2 separate regions of the Homo sapiens genome follow, and region 1 is linked to region 2. Evidence: promoter capture Hi-C in 16 types of primary human blood cells and fetal thymus (Javierre and others, 2016). All regions are on one chromosome and are shown on one strand. Each heading gives the region's core, a stretch centred on a gene start or on the middle of the fragment in contact. The rest is flanking DNA. Distances are from core to core; before and after follow the strand shown. Region 1 overlaps TMED10 (transmembrane p24 trafficking protein 10). Region 2 holds the start of JDP2 (Jun dimerization protein 2).

Evidence for each region. The method cuts DNA at HindIII sites, captures the fragments that hold promoters and counts their contacts. A CHiCAGO score of 5 or more calls a contact.
Region 1: a fragment that was not itself captured here is called in contact with the fragment with the promoter of JDP2 in region 2 in 11 of 17 cell types (monocytes, neutrophils, M1 macrophages and 8 more); the score reaches 25.0 in monocytes.

Annotation. Positions count from the first base shown.
Region 1 is chr14:75,140,756-75,146,884 of GRCh38, reverse strand. The region is part of intron 3 of TMED10 (transmembrane p24 trafficking protein 10); the gene reads left to right. Among named protein-coding and RNA genes, the nearest start is that of NEK9, 17 kb to the right of the region's middle. The HindIII fragment of the contact is 2,336 bases long and covers 3,371-5,706 here.
Region 2 is chr14:75,425,606-75,431,886 of GRCh38, reverse strand. JDP2 (Jun dimerization protein 2) reads right to left here and starts at 3,865. Exons shown (of 4, transcript NM_001135048.2): 1 at 3,635-3,865. JDP2-AS1 (JDP2 antisense RNA 1) reads left to right here and starts at 4,232. Exons shown (of 2, transcript NR_184172.1): 1 at 4,232-4,417; 2 at 5,176-6,281. RefSeq lists silencers at 3,217-3,386, 3,447-3,626, 3,877-4,146 and enhancers at 3,812-4,369, 4,337-4,396, 4,417-4,746, 4,997-5,096. The HindIII fragment of the contact is 6,934 bases long and covers 2,445-6,281 here.

The DNA.
Region 1 (6,129 bases), core at 3,289-5,788, 290 kb after region 2:
GTCTTGAACAACTGTTTTGTGTTTGGGAAATAACAATAGTCAAAGATAGTTTTTAGTTAAAATAATTTCAAACTTTCAAGGAAGAGGGCAGGATGGAGGAAAAAGCTGCAAGAGACTAGGAATGGTGATAATAGAAATTTGATGCTGATAAGAAGTTATTTATTATAGACTAATAAAAACTGACACTTATTTGGGTGACAGGGAGATGGAGGTGTACACAGAATGAGGAGAAGGACAACAGCCTTTTTCATCTCTGCGAGACTTGGGGGCAGCACAAAAGGGTTCTTCAAATGAAGGGCACCTTTGAAAAACCACAAGAACTATTTAAGACTAGATAATTGATCTTTACAGAAAGATAAGAGTATTTTTACCCAACAAAACAGTACGTAAGGGCATGAAGGAGGAGTGGGGTACAGGAAATAGAATGGGCTTTTGAAGAATGCAAACTAAGTAAATGAAGGAAAATTGGTTTAAGTGATTTAGGAAAATTGTCTAGGAATAGTGGAACAGAAGTTGCTCTCTCTTTGGACAGCACTTTGGAAGGGAAATATCCTAAAATGGAAGAAGATTGGAAATGACTGGTTAATTCTGCAACAGGAAGTAGTACAACAGTTGCAGCTCTTTCCTTGTTCAAATCCTCAATTGAATGAAACTAGGTAGCGTTATTTAGAGGCAGTAAATAGGAGCAAGTGATACAGTTGTGAATGGGAGACAGTTTCCGGTAGAGAATTTTCAATTGTTTGTTTCTGTTTCCAGGCTAGTTTAATTTAAATAAATAAAACAAGAAGACCTCTTTATTTGATGAACTTGAGTAAATTGAAAAATTTTTTTAAACCTTCATGATTCAGAAGAATCTTAATTATATTTAAATAAGATTATGTTAAAGTGCTTTTATAAGATATAAAACACTAGGGAGAATGTTCTCATTATTATAAGGTAGAAGAATAGGTAAAATGATTTCCAGTTTGTGGTTACTGCTTCTGTTCCCGAACTGTGGACCATTCTCAGTTGAATTTGTACTCTGTGGAATTTTACCTATTGTAATCTTTTTCTCCAACATGATGCCTGTCATTAAGGGTATTTATTTATTTATTTATTGAGATGGAGTCTCGCTTGGTTGCCCAGGCTGGAGTGCAGTGGCGGGATCTCTGCTCACTGCAAGCTCCGCCTCCCGGGTTCACGCCATTCTCCTGCCTCAGCCTCCCGAGTAGCTGGGACTACAGGCACCCATCACCACGCCCAGCTAATTTTTTGTATTTTTAGTAGAGACGGGGTTTCACCATGTTAGCCAGGATGGTCTCGATCTCCTGACCTCGTGATCTGCCTGTCTTGGCCTCCCAAAGTGCTGGCGGATTACATGCGTGAGGCACCGCGCCCAGCCCAAGGGTATTTATTAAATAACAACACATCAATGCCCTATTAGACAGTAGACATAGCTAGTTCCCCTCAAAAACAGATGACATTATTGTGGGTTTATATAAAGAATGCTTTGGACACAGCTGTCGTATAGCATTTTAGAACCCCTATACCTCCTGGAATTTCCATCATCCTTGGACTTTATAGACATTAGGAAAGGGGCTTTATCTTTCCTGACCTTTTGCTTAACCCAAGAGGGGAATCCCTAGCCCAAAGAAAACCACGGTGCTTCCTTTGCCTGCTTCCTGCTTCAGACGTCTGACATGTCCTAAGCCTGCCTTTACGCATGTAGTTACAACACAGCTCCAAGGTTCTGCTTCTTAACCAAGAAACTCCTCCCCACTACTTTCTTTAACATCTATCCCCACCCTCCTGCCCTTCACCCCTGCTCCCCAGCAGCAGACCAGATTGATGTAGAGGAGGAATGGCTATGACACAGTCCGAAGACCAGCCCTTTCTTCAGTCTGCAGCAAGGCTGCCTTGAACCTTGCTTAGAAATGGCTGTTAGCTGGCAGGGCACGGTGGCTCACACCTGTAATCCCAGCACTTTGGGAGGCCAAGGTGGGTGGATCACCCAAGGTCAGGAGTTGGAGACCAGCCTGGCCAACCTGGCGAAAACCCCATCTCTACTAAAAATACAAAAATTAGCCGGGCATGGTGGCGGGTACCTGTAGTCCCAACTACTCGGGAGGCTGAAGCAAGAGAATCACTTGAACGATTTAATTTCAGGCCCTTGAGATAATGGAGAGGCTTTATCTCCAGAGGATTTGGAATCTTTGGCATCAGCATTAAGATTCGGGAATGTGGCATACTTCTTTAATTTTCATGTCCAACACATCTCTCCCTCATATCTGTGGACTCATAATTCTGAAATCCCATGTGGTCCTGTAAGATTGAATAGTAATTGTACCACACTACCTACCTAAATTGTTATTAATTAATCCATGTGAAATTGCTATGTAACACAATACAAATGTAAGATGATATTATTTGGAAGACAGAATGCTTGTCATACTGTGAAGAAGCATTAAGTCTTGTTGTTTGAATTCTTTAAAGAGAAAGAATGCCTTTGTCCTCGGAAATAAAGCACTTTTGATTTTGATTTCTTGCATTTTATTTTATGAACCTCTGACCACTGTCTCACTTCTGCCCTTCAGAGGGTGTATCTTTGTAGATTCAGGATGTGAACCGAGCCACTTCTTTTTAGTTTGTCATCTGTGAACTAGAGCAGTTGTTTGTAGGGACTTACTGTCTGTGCAGTTGGGAGAATGCAGGCAATTACTGTCCGACAAAGAAGGAGCTATCTGACACATCTTCTAACTCCTGGGCTGTGTGTCCCACGAGTAAAATACCGCTTTGCCTAGGCGATTCTATTTGTCTGTCATTTGCTATCAATCTATATTCCAAAAACACAGCTGCCCTGGTTGGAGCAACAGCTGAAGACTTTCCAAAAGTTCTGTTTCTCTGAGTGCTCTCAGGAAGGAGGAACTCTGATTCCATGTACTAGATCCAAAGTCCTTTTTTTTTTTTTTTTTGAGACAGAGTATCACTCAGTTATTCAGGCTGTAGTGCAGTGGCGTGATCTTAGCTCACTGCAACCTCTGCCTCCCGGGTTCAAACAATTATTCTGCCTCAGCCTCCCGAGTAGCTGGGATTACAAGTGTGCACCACCACACCCAGCTAATTTTTGTATTTTTAGTAGAGACAGGGTTTCACCATGTAGGCCAGGCTGGTCTCCAACTCCTGACCTCAAGTGATCTGGCCACCTCGGCCTCCCAAAGTGCTGGGATTACAGGCATGAGCCACTGTGCCAGCTCTGTTATGTTTATCTTGCTTGTGTTAGACTAGATGGTCTTCACATTTATTGCTGTGCTCCTGGAGTTGGTGGGGGCTGTGGTGGGAGGCATGGAGGCAGCAAACTACTTTGACTGAATTTGTCTTGTCACAAGAAGCTTCTCTCTTGGATCTTGATGCTCCACCAAGGAAAAGAATTTAGAGATTCCCTAGAGGTTAGATTAACACCTCTGTTTTAAGAAGCAGTTTTTTCAGAGAATTAATACCTTTTCTTGGTACAGTTACATATAACTCTGTGAACTCTTTAGATTCAAATCTTCATTATAATGGAAGATTTGGATATGGTTTTAGAAGAGTTTAATTTTACTGGTATTTTGGAGGTGTTATACAGAAAAAGGCTTTGTAACTTGTAGCTTTTCCAAACAGTACCTACCATGACCAGTAAGAATGATGTTAATAGATATGGTGGTAGAGAAGGCTTTCTCCTAGGCGGCGGGCCTCATGAAAATAGATGCAGGCTGGGCGCGGTGGCTCACACCTGTAATCCCAGCACTTTGGAAGGCTGAGGCAGGTGGATCACCTGAGGTCAGGAGTTCAAGACCAACTTGGCCAACATGGTGAAACCCTGTCTCTACTAAAAATACAAAAATTAGCTGGGTGTGGTGGCAGGCGCCTGTAATCCCAGCTACTCGGGAAGCTGAGGCAGGAGAATCATTTGAACCTGGGAGGCAGAGGTTGCAGTGAGCCAAGATCGTGCCACTGCACTCCAGCATGGGTGACAAAGCAAAACTCTATCTCAAAAAAATAAAAAAAAGAAAGAAAAAAAATCAATGCAGAGTGCTTTTAGTATACAAGAAACACTTGCTTCAGGGGACCAGCAGCACTTAGCTACTTTGAGAAAGTTGGCTTCTTTGAAGAAGGCATAGAGTGGGCAGAACAGGTCAATTACAAGTGTTTACCAAGTCTCAGGTCTTTACGACTATATAAACTATAAATCATTTTAATTTCCTTGAGTTCAGGAGCCAAACTAGTGTGGAGGGACAGGATAAAAATAAAACAATTTGTGAATATGACAATATATGATTGAGTGTTAACTGTGTGACACAGTATGTGTTGTAGGGCTTCAGGGAAGACAGTGTGGACAAGAGTGGTTGAAGGAGGCTTTCAAGGAGGCTTGAAAGATAGGTCAGATTTGGGTACAGAGAGCATAAATGCTTTTGGAAGTCAGGGATTCTGTTCTCGAATTTTACAGCAGAGTTTGGCAGTTTAAATGCTGTGATCACCCTGGGTAGGGAGTTAAGAGACCATGGTACTGTTAATTTTGGTTGGACACCCAAAGGGCTGAGTAACTTTATGGAATCTTTAGTTTCCTCATTTGAAAAATGAGGGACTCACTGCAAAATGAAGCACCTTGTAACTATAACATCCTTTGATTATTTAACAACTACATGCAGCTTGCCAGGGGGATATCACCCCCTATTGGAGAACCTGTGGTGCACATTGTCTTACAGACTTGGCAAAACATACCTCATGCTTCCAGTGATGAAGGAGAGTAGAATAGAATACCAGCCTGCCTTCATGAAACATGTATAATTTGGCATTTTTACAGATACTCTGAACAGTTCAATCAACTGCTTACAAGAGCAGAACAACAGAAAGTGGGAATTTTGATATTGAGGATTTTTTAGCTTTTTGTACTGTGATATAAAGCCTCAATGCTATGTATTGAATGCTTAGTCCAGAGCAAGTAAAGAGCGTCTTCTTGAGAATACTTACCATGATTTGTTTTAAAATTTTACTCTGTTGCCCTGCAAAAATAATAGCAATGGGAAACCCAGGAAGTTTATTAGTCAAACTTTATTAGTCAAGCAAACAGGACAACTTATATAGATCCTTGTGGCCTAATATAGCTTGTTCATTTCACCTTTGATTCAGGAAAAACTTAGTATACTCATCTGGTTTTCTTTATTAAATTTCTAGTACTTACAGAATAAACTCACATAGACTTGGATTCTAATGCCAACTGCACCAAGCTGTGATACTTTGGGCAAATTATTTAATACCTCAGAGCCTTAGTTTCCTCATCTGCAAAACTTAAGGATAAAAATATTCACCTTATAGGGTTACGAGGATTAAATGAGATTACAAAATATACTACATTGTGAGCATATATGAATGGCTCTGATTCATTATACTACCTTTTTCATCCCCTTCCCTAATTTAGTCTCAGCCTAACTTTTGAGCCTTTTATTTGCTATTATCCCCTACCCTCCCCAAGCACAAGTGTGTGGCAGTTATGTGTGTACATGCACACATACCCTATAGTCTAGTTTCTAGCACACCAGACTACTTATGTCTAGACTATTCGTAGTTGCTAAACATGCCTGCACTTTACTCCCTCCGTGTTTTGGTTTACAGGTTCCCCTCAGCCTTGAATGCCCTCTCAAAAGTCCTGCCCAACTTGTGAGACCCAGCTCACCCACTTCCTGTTAAGCTTCACTTTGTCCTCCCAACTAGAACTGTTTTTAATGTGTATTTTTTGTTATAGAAGTTACTACATAAAGCCATATATTATGGTTATAACTTACTATATAAGCTGTGAGAGCTTAAGATCATAACTTACCTTGGTACCTTGCACATAATAAGAACTCAGAAAAAAACGTTAAGGCCTTAAAATGTTTAAAAAAAATCAAGAAACTTTTTTATATTTGTTTTAAGCTGGTAATAAAAGTCTATTGTTATATATTCTTGCAATAAAGTTTTTTTTTCTTTATTATTATTACTACTTTGTAATAGAGATGGGGTCTTGCTGTGTTGCCCAGCCTGGTCTCCAGCAATCCACCTGCCTTGGCTTCCCAAAGTGCTGGTATTACTGGCATGAGCCACTGTGCCCTGCCTGCAGTGAAGGTTTTTTGTTTT
Region 2 (6,281 bases), core at 2,616-5,115:
CACATAGTAAGAGTGAAGTCAGTGTGGCCACCAGGGCCTTCCTTCCTGGAGGGGCACTAGTGCCAGATGACCCCTCAAGGTCCCTTCTGGACTAGTCTCTGTTTCCTGCAGCCATGAAGAGGATTCTCCCCAGAGGATTCTCCGCTCTCCCACTTTCCAGCTCTAAACCCCAAGGGGGCAGGACCATCTTGCATCCTGGCAGTTGACTGCAGAACAGAAACAAAGGGTGCCAGGTCAGGGCTGGGTAGAAGGTGCAGAAATGGGGCCCAGCACCTGCCCTCGGCCTCGGTTTCCTCTAAGGTCTCCTCCACCCTGCAGGCCAGAACACAGCTGCACAGACACTGGCAACAAGGTGCCATCAAGAACTAGGTTTCCATTTCTGCCCCAAGGCAGACAGCCAGCATCTCCTGTGCCCTCTACTCCATCCCTGCACTGCTTCATAAGAAGACAAGGAGCGGTAGCTGGGTTCAAGAGAAGCCACTGAACACTGGCAGCCGTGATCCCTGCACAGCCATCCCAGCCATAGAAGAACCTGGAACCAACCCCCAGGGAACTCCTGCTCTTCCCTGGAGACCAGAGAAATGCTTCCAAGGCCTTGCCTATAACATCGCTTTGTCCTCTGCCTAATGTAGGCGCTCAATAAATACATATGAAGTTATCTCTGCCAGGAATCTTTAACCCAGGCAGCAAGAGGAAGCTGGGAGCGTACAACCATTGGACAAGCTTTCTATTTTCCCTTCTACTTCACGCCAGCTCTGGTCCTTGGTGGCTGGCAGGGGTTAACACTACCACACCTAATACAGACACACACACAAGGTGTGATAATCGCCCTGGTCTTTTTTTTAAAAAATGCCACTGGCCAGCTGAAGCTTTGCAAATGGAGCTCTGCAACTAAATCCCGTGGGCTGCAGCAAGAAAACAGACTAAAAAACAACAACAACTAAGAATGGTGGGCTCTGGCCAGGCCTCCCACAGCCAGCAATAAGTAAAGAAACACAGTCTGAAAATTCCAAGACTGGGTCGCTAAGGCATTTGTCTCTGCTGAGTTCCGAGAGGCCAAACCACACACACACACAAGAACGCATGTGCACACACATGCACACGCACACACACATACACAGGCACATGGAGCTTGGCAGCCCCTAAGTTCCAGAGCTGGTAATACAAGCCACGGAACCGACTGCCAAGACAAGCAACAGAATGAGCCAGGCCCGGTTTCATTGGCCACCATACGCTGCATATGGCCCGGGACGCAGCCAAAACAGTGTTCTCACCCTCCTCAAAGGCATAGGAGACCCTCTGTTTTCAAACACACCTCCACAGAGCCTTAATTAAAGGAAAATGGAAAAATAATGTGCCTGCTGCCCTCCCCTGCCTATATAGGTATGCACACACACATACCCATATACACTCACTCCATTTTTCTCTTCCTCCCATTTCGGTTTCAAACATAATTCATTCGCATGGAAAAAAAGCAAACTGCATCCTGCAGCAGAAAGGCAGAAAAGAATGTAGCTTGCCCTCAACCCTGGCTCTGATTGCTCAAGTTGAGCTGGAGCTGAATGAATACAGAGCAGGCCGGCCTAGAGTCGGCGTTGGCCCCTTTCTTTCCAGAGTGGAGCTGGAAACAGACACTCGAGAGAGACAGCCCATTGCAACACCAGTAGCCCCACGACAAACAAGGCCCAGAGAGCCTATTCCTGCCAGGGATTCTGCAGGTTGGAAAAAAATGCCCACACATCCTACAAACAGGTAGGGAGATGACAACAAACCCAGGGAGTCAGGAGGAGCATTCCCTGGTAGCTGCAAAAGTTAGGCAGTGGATGAGTGGGGAGACCCTTATCCAAACCCTTCCTAGGGGGCATTGTCACCACTTTGCAACACATCTCCTTGGAGGTGGCTGCAGCCAACCTAGGAGAAAAGCCAGAGGTCTACACACCCATGACTTCCTGCAGCCCACCTAGGAGAAAAGCCAGAGGTCTACACACCCATGACTTCCTGCAGCCCTTCAAATCACACAGCACCCAGCTCTTCAGGAAGATTCTGGAGCTGCCTGCAGCTCTGAACCAAAGCCAAAGTAGAAGGGAACAGAAGAGTCTTTGAGAAATCCATCCTCCCTGCTCTAAACAAGGCAAAACCTTAACCACCCAGAGGTGTGAGAATAGATTTTGCTTCTCTTCCTCGATCCTCAGGTTTATACAAAATCAGAGCCATGCTCACACCTGATACCTGGTTAAACTCTCCCCTAGAAACCTGCAAAGGAAGATAAGCTATCCATCCAAGCTGCAGCCAGATTTGCTGGAAAGGTAAAAGCAATGGGAAGTGTTTTTTAAAACCCTCAGGGAAGGAAGGTTGGGGGGAAGGGAGATGATACGCGAATGCAGTTTCTACCAAGGGCTTAAAGGACGTTTGGGTACAAATGTACCCAAACATGGTTCAAAGCTTCCCAATTCCTGATGCTCCTCCAATTAAGACCCTAGGGAGAGACCACCAAGATTTAAGCCTGGGTACACACGCCTAAGCAGGCTGCAAGCCCTTTCTGAGATATAGACCTGAGCACATTTGCCCTGAGCACACGTGGTCGGGCCATAGCCCCATGCCCTGGATTCCAACAGGGAGGGCAGCACCCTGGGCAAGGGCCACGCCATCTTGCAACTGGAGATGACCCAAGGGGGTCGGCTGATTTCTCCTTCCACCAGCCTCTCCATCCCTGCAAAAGAGCCAGGACCTCCCCATCTTCCCCAGCCTCCTCATCTTCCCTGCTCCTCCTACTGACCCAGGCAAAGCCTGGCTCTGCCATCCCAGGGTCCAGGGATCCAGGTGGAAGGCCCAATCCACCCCTACACTCTCCCACCCCCCACTGCACCCCTACCCCTCGACAACCTCCTTTGAAGGGAGGAGCAGAGGAGAGCCTTCTAAGCTGGGCTGGGCAAGGGAGAGGCTGGTTACCTACAGGAGCCTGCTTGCCTCCTTATATAACCTGGCGTGGGAGACAGGAGAGCCCAAAGGGGACCCCGGCCACCCCTAGATCCCCTCCCAGCCCAGAGCTCCGAAGCAATGGCCATGAGAGAAGCTGCCTTCATTGGATGGAAATCCCGAGCCCTTCTCAATACTCTCCTCCGGGTCCGGGTCCTCCGGGAGTCGCGCTTCCTCACTGCCAGGAGGTCCTTGTCATCCCTCCACAATCTAACCCCGACCCCAACCCCGCACCTCCCTGGCCCTTCACCCTCCACCTCCACCCGCACAGCCCATCTCCGCGGGCACTTTTCTCCCCACTCACCCCGCCTTCCCCGCCGCCCGAGGAGAGCACCTCCCTGCAAACGGACGGGGGAGGAGAGCGCGGGAGGGAGAAGGAGGGAGCACCCCGGCTGTCCAGGGAGCGGACGGAGCCTCCCGTCCCGGGGCGGGAACCAAAAGGAAGCCTCAGGCTGCCGGGCGCCTCGCGGGAGGGGCCCGGCTGCAGCGCCCGGCGCGGGGAAAGCTCGAGGTCCCTGGGCTGCGGGAGCCTCCCCGCGGGGCTGGGCTGGGGCTCCTCGCGCTCCGCCCGTGCGGGGGCGGCCGTCCCAGGTGCCCGCGCCGCGCCCTGCCCCGCCCCGCCCGTCCCGGCGCCCCCAGCGCGCGCCCTCGCACCCACCGTGCAGAAGGTGCGGGGGGAGGCGGCGCCCCCGGGGCCGGGGCCCGGCTGCAGGCGCCGTGCCCGCTCCGCGCCGCTGCCGCCCGGCCGCGGAGCTCCGCCCGGTGCCCAGGCCTGTCCCGGCCCGGGAGCCGCCGCGGCGCCAGCCCCGCCGCCGCTGCAGCGTCCGCCGCCGCCAGCGCCCCCCGTCGCGGCCGCCGAGCGTCCCTCCCGCAGGCTGTGGCGGGCGGCGGGACGGGTTGCATCAGCCCCGGCTATATAGCGGCCCCTGGGCGGCGGGGAGGGGTCGGGAATGCGGAACCGGCCGAGCTGCCAGCTCCAGACGTCAGAGGGGGACGGAGAGGAAGGGAAGGAGGGGACCGGGGAGGAGGGGGTGTGGAGCCGGCGCTTCACACCCACTGACCTTAACCTCCCCCGCCGCCTTGGGCGCCCTCCTCCCGCGGCCGCTCGCGCTCCTCTCCCCGCGGGGGCGTCCCGGGTTCCATGCAGTCCCCCGGCTCCGCCACCCCACGGTGCAGGAGCGCTCGAGAAAGCAGGACGCGGCGAGCGGTTATGTAAGCGCACCCCCCGCGCACCGCCGCCCGGCTTGTGCCCGCCAGGCAGCAGCAGCCGCAGCCCTAGGAGAGAGACGCGAGAGGCCGGAGCCGGGGGAAAAGTCAAAAGCCCCTTCACGCACAGCCTGTGTTAACCATGTACCTCAGTCCCGGCGCTTCCCCCACAAACTGAGAGCGACAGGGAGAATTTCCGCACAGTTTCATCCTTGGACACTTCAGGACTGAGCGGGTGAGGAGGCGATCTCGCCAGCCTGCTTTATTTTTCGGTGGAGAAGGATGGGCTGAGATGAAGGCATTTGGGGACTCCTACCCCTACCCACCGGCCCCCGCCAGCGCCCTTAGGCCCCGAGACGGCTGGCTGCACCAGCCTGACCTCTGCTAGGGCTGCAGCCTGAGACCGCGGCTTGCTCTACTGCTGGCGCAGTTTGACCCTTGGGCTTGTACCCTGCTCCAGCGGGCTTCTCCTTTCCACTCCGGACACAGCAGTGAGCAGACCCAGCCCTCAGCAGACCCCAAGTGGCCTTCTTCCCCGTTCCAGCTTCAATAGCCAACCCCACTCCCACCTTCCATCCTTCTAGAGAGGAAATGGTGAAGGGGACTCCAGAGGGAAGGCGACATCCATGGTGCCCTCCAGTATACAAAGGCAGAGACACAGAGCCCTCAGGTAGAACGGGGTTCCCTAGATGGCATCTCCTACCTCCAGAGCTCCTGGGTACCCATCGAGCCCCCTACCTTCTGCCTAAGCCAGATAGGAGTGACGATTTTTATACTCAGCGACTTTCGGCCTCCTTCTGAGAGTGATGTCAGGTCATCACCCATAGAAGAAAGGAAGTGAAAGAAAAAGTTCATGCCTTCTTGGAGTGCAGATGCTCAGAGTGAAAGAAACAACAAGACTTGAGACAGATGGGTGCCATTGAGCAAACCCGAACATGCATGTCTCTCTCATGTGAGTGAGTGCATGAGACTTTATTCTCCTTATTTCCCCAGTGCAGTGAAATCTTTCTGGATAAAAGAAGTGGGCTAATGGAAGGAGAGACAGACCAAGTCCCAATGACATTGCCTGACCATTTTCACCTTCGCCATCAGCAGTCTCCCTCACAGCATTGGTGTGGGCAGGTAAGAAGAAAGCAAGGCCCTGAAAGAATATACATTGGAAAATGAGCAGTAATTTGATACTCTTGTGGAAGAGCATGACTCTTCGCCCCAGAAAGGCCAATGACACCTTTACTACAGCGTAAAGATCAAAGCCAGGGACTGTGAAACTGCCTCATGATGTTTCTCCCATGAGACCTGTGTCTGGATGTTTATATGGAACAAAACATGGAACAGAGGCAATAGTACTTGATGTGTCTTCAGCTGGGGCTTTGGATAAACTAAACTGATCTATATTCAGGGACTAATAATTAGGGTGTGTGGTTAGAGCGCGTCCTCTCTAGGGCCTGTTTTGGACTGTGGCTGGGCCACCAGCAGTCCTACTGGGCCTTTGCTTCCCCCACAAATTAAATATGTTACAGGGGTGGCACCAAGGGGTGACTTGGGAGGCCTTTAGTCCCCTCTACCTCTCTATAATCTCCATTAGATCTTCTCTGTTATTTGCTATTGATGCTTTTCAGTTTCATATAGGACGCTATAAGAACACAGCTTCAAGGCCTCCCTTCCGCCACATACTCCCTACTAGGCCCCTCTACGTAGTCACTGCCTCTGGGAGTGGCTAGAGGGAGAAGCCATAAACTGGGTCCTTTATGCAGACATTGGATGCTGGATGGAGCTGATTTACCACTGGCTCTTAGGGACAGACAAGTGACTCAGCCTAAGGCAGTTTGAATTTAAGTTTCCTATCACAACTAGAAAAGTCCTGATTAACACGCCCAGCCCTAGTCAATGGGCTGATTGAGAGATCGTCACATATCCCAAGAAAATCTCACAAGACTGGGAATTTTGTGGATCTGCTGGAAAGAGAAGCTGCCAGAAGCCCCACGTGAAAGGGAACTACTGAGAGTGAAGCTAATGGGAGGAAAAGTAGAGCCAAGCCACGGAGGGAAAGACAGATCAAGTTCCAATGACATTGCCTGAGTTCCTGAATTCAGTCATGC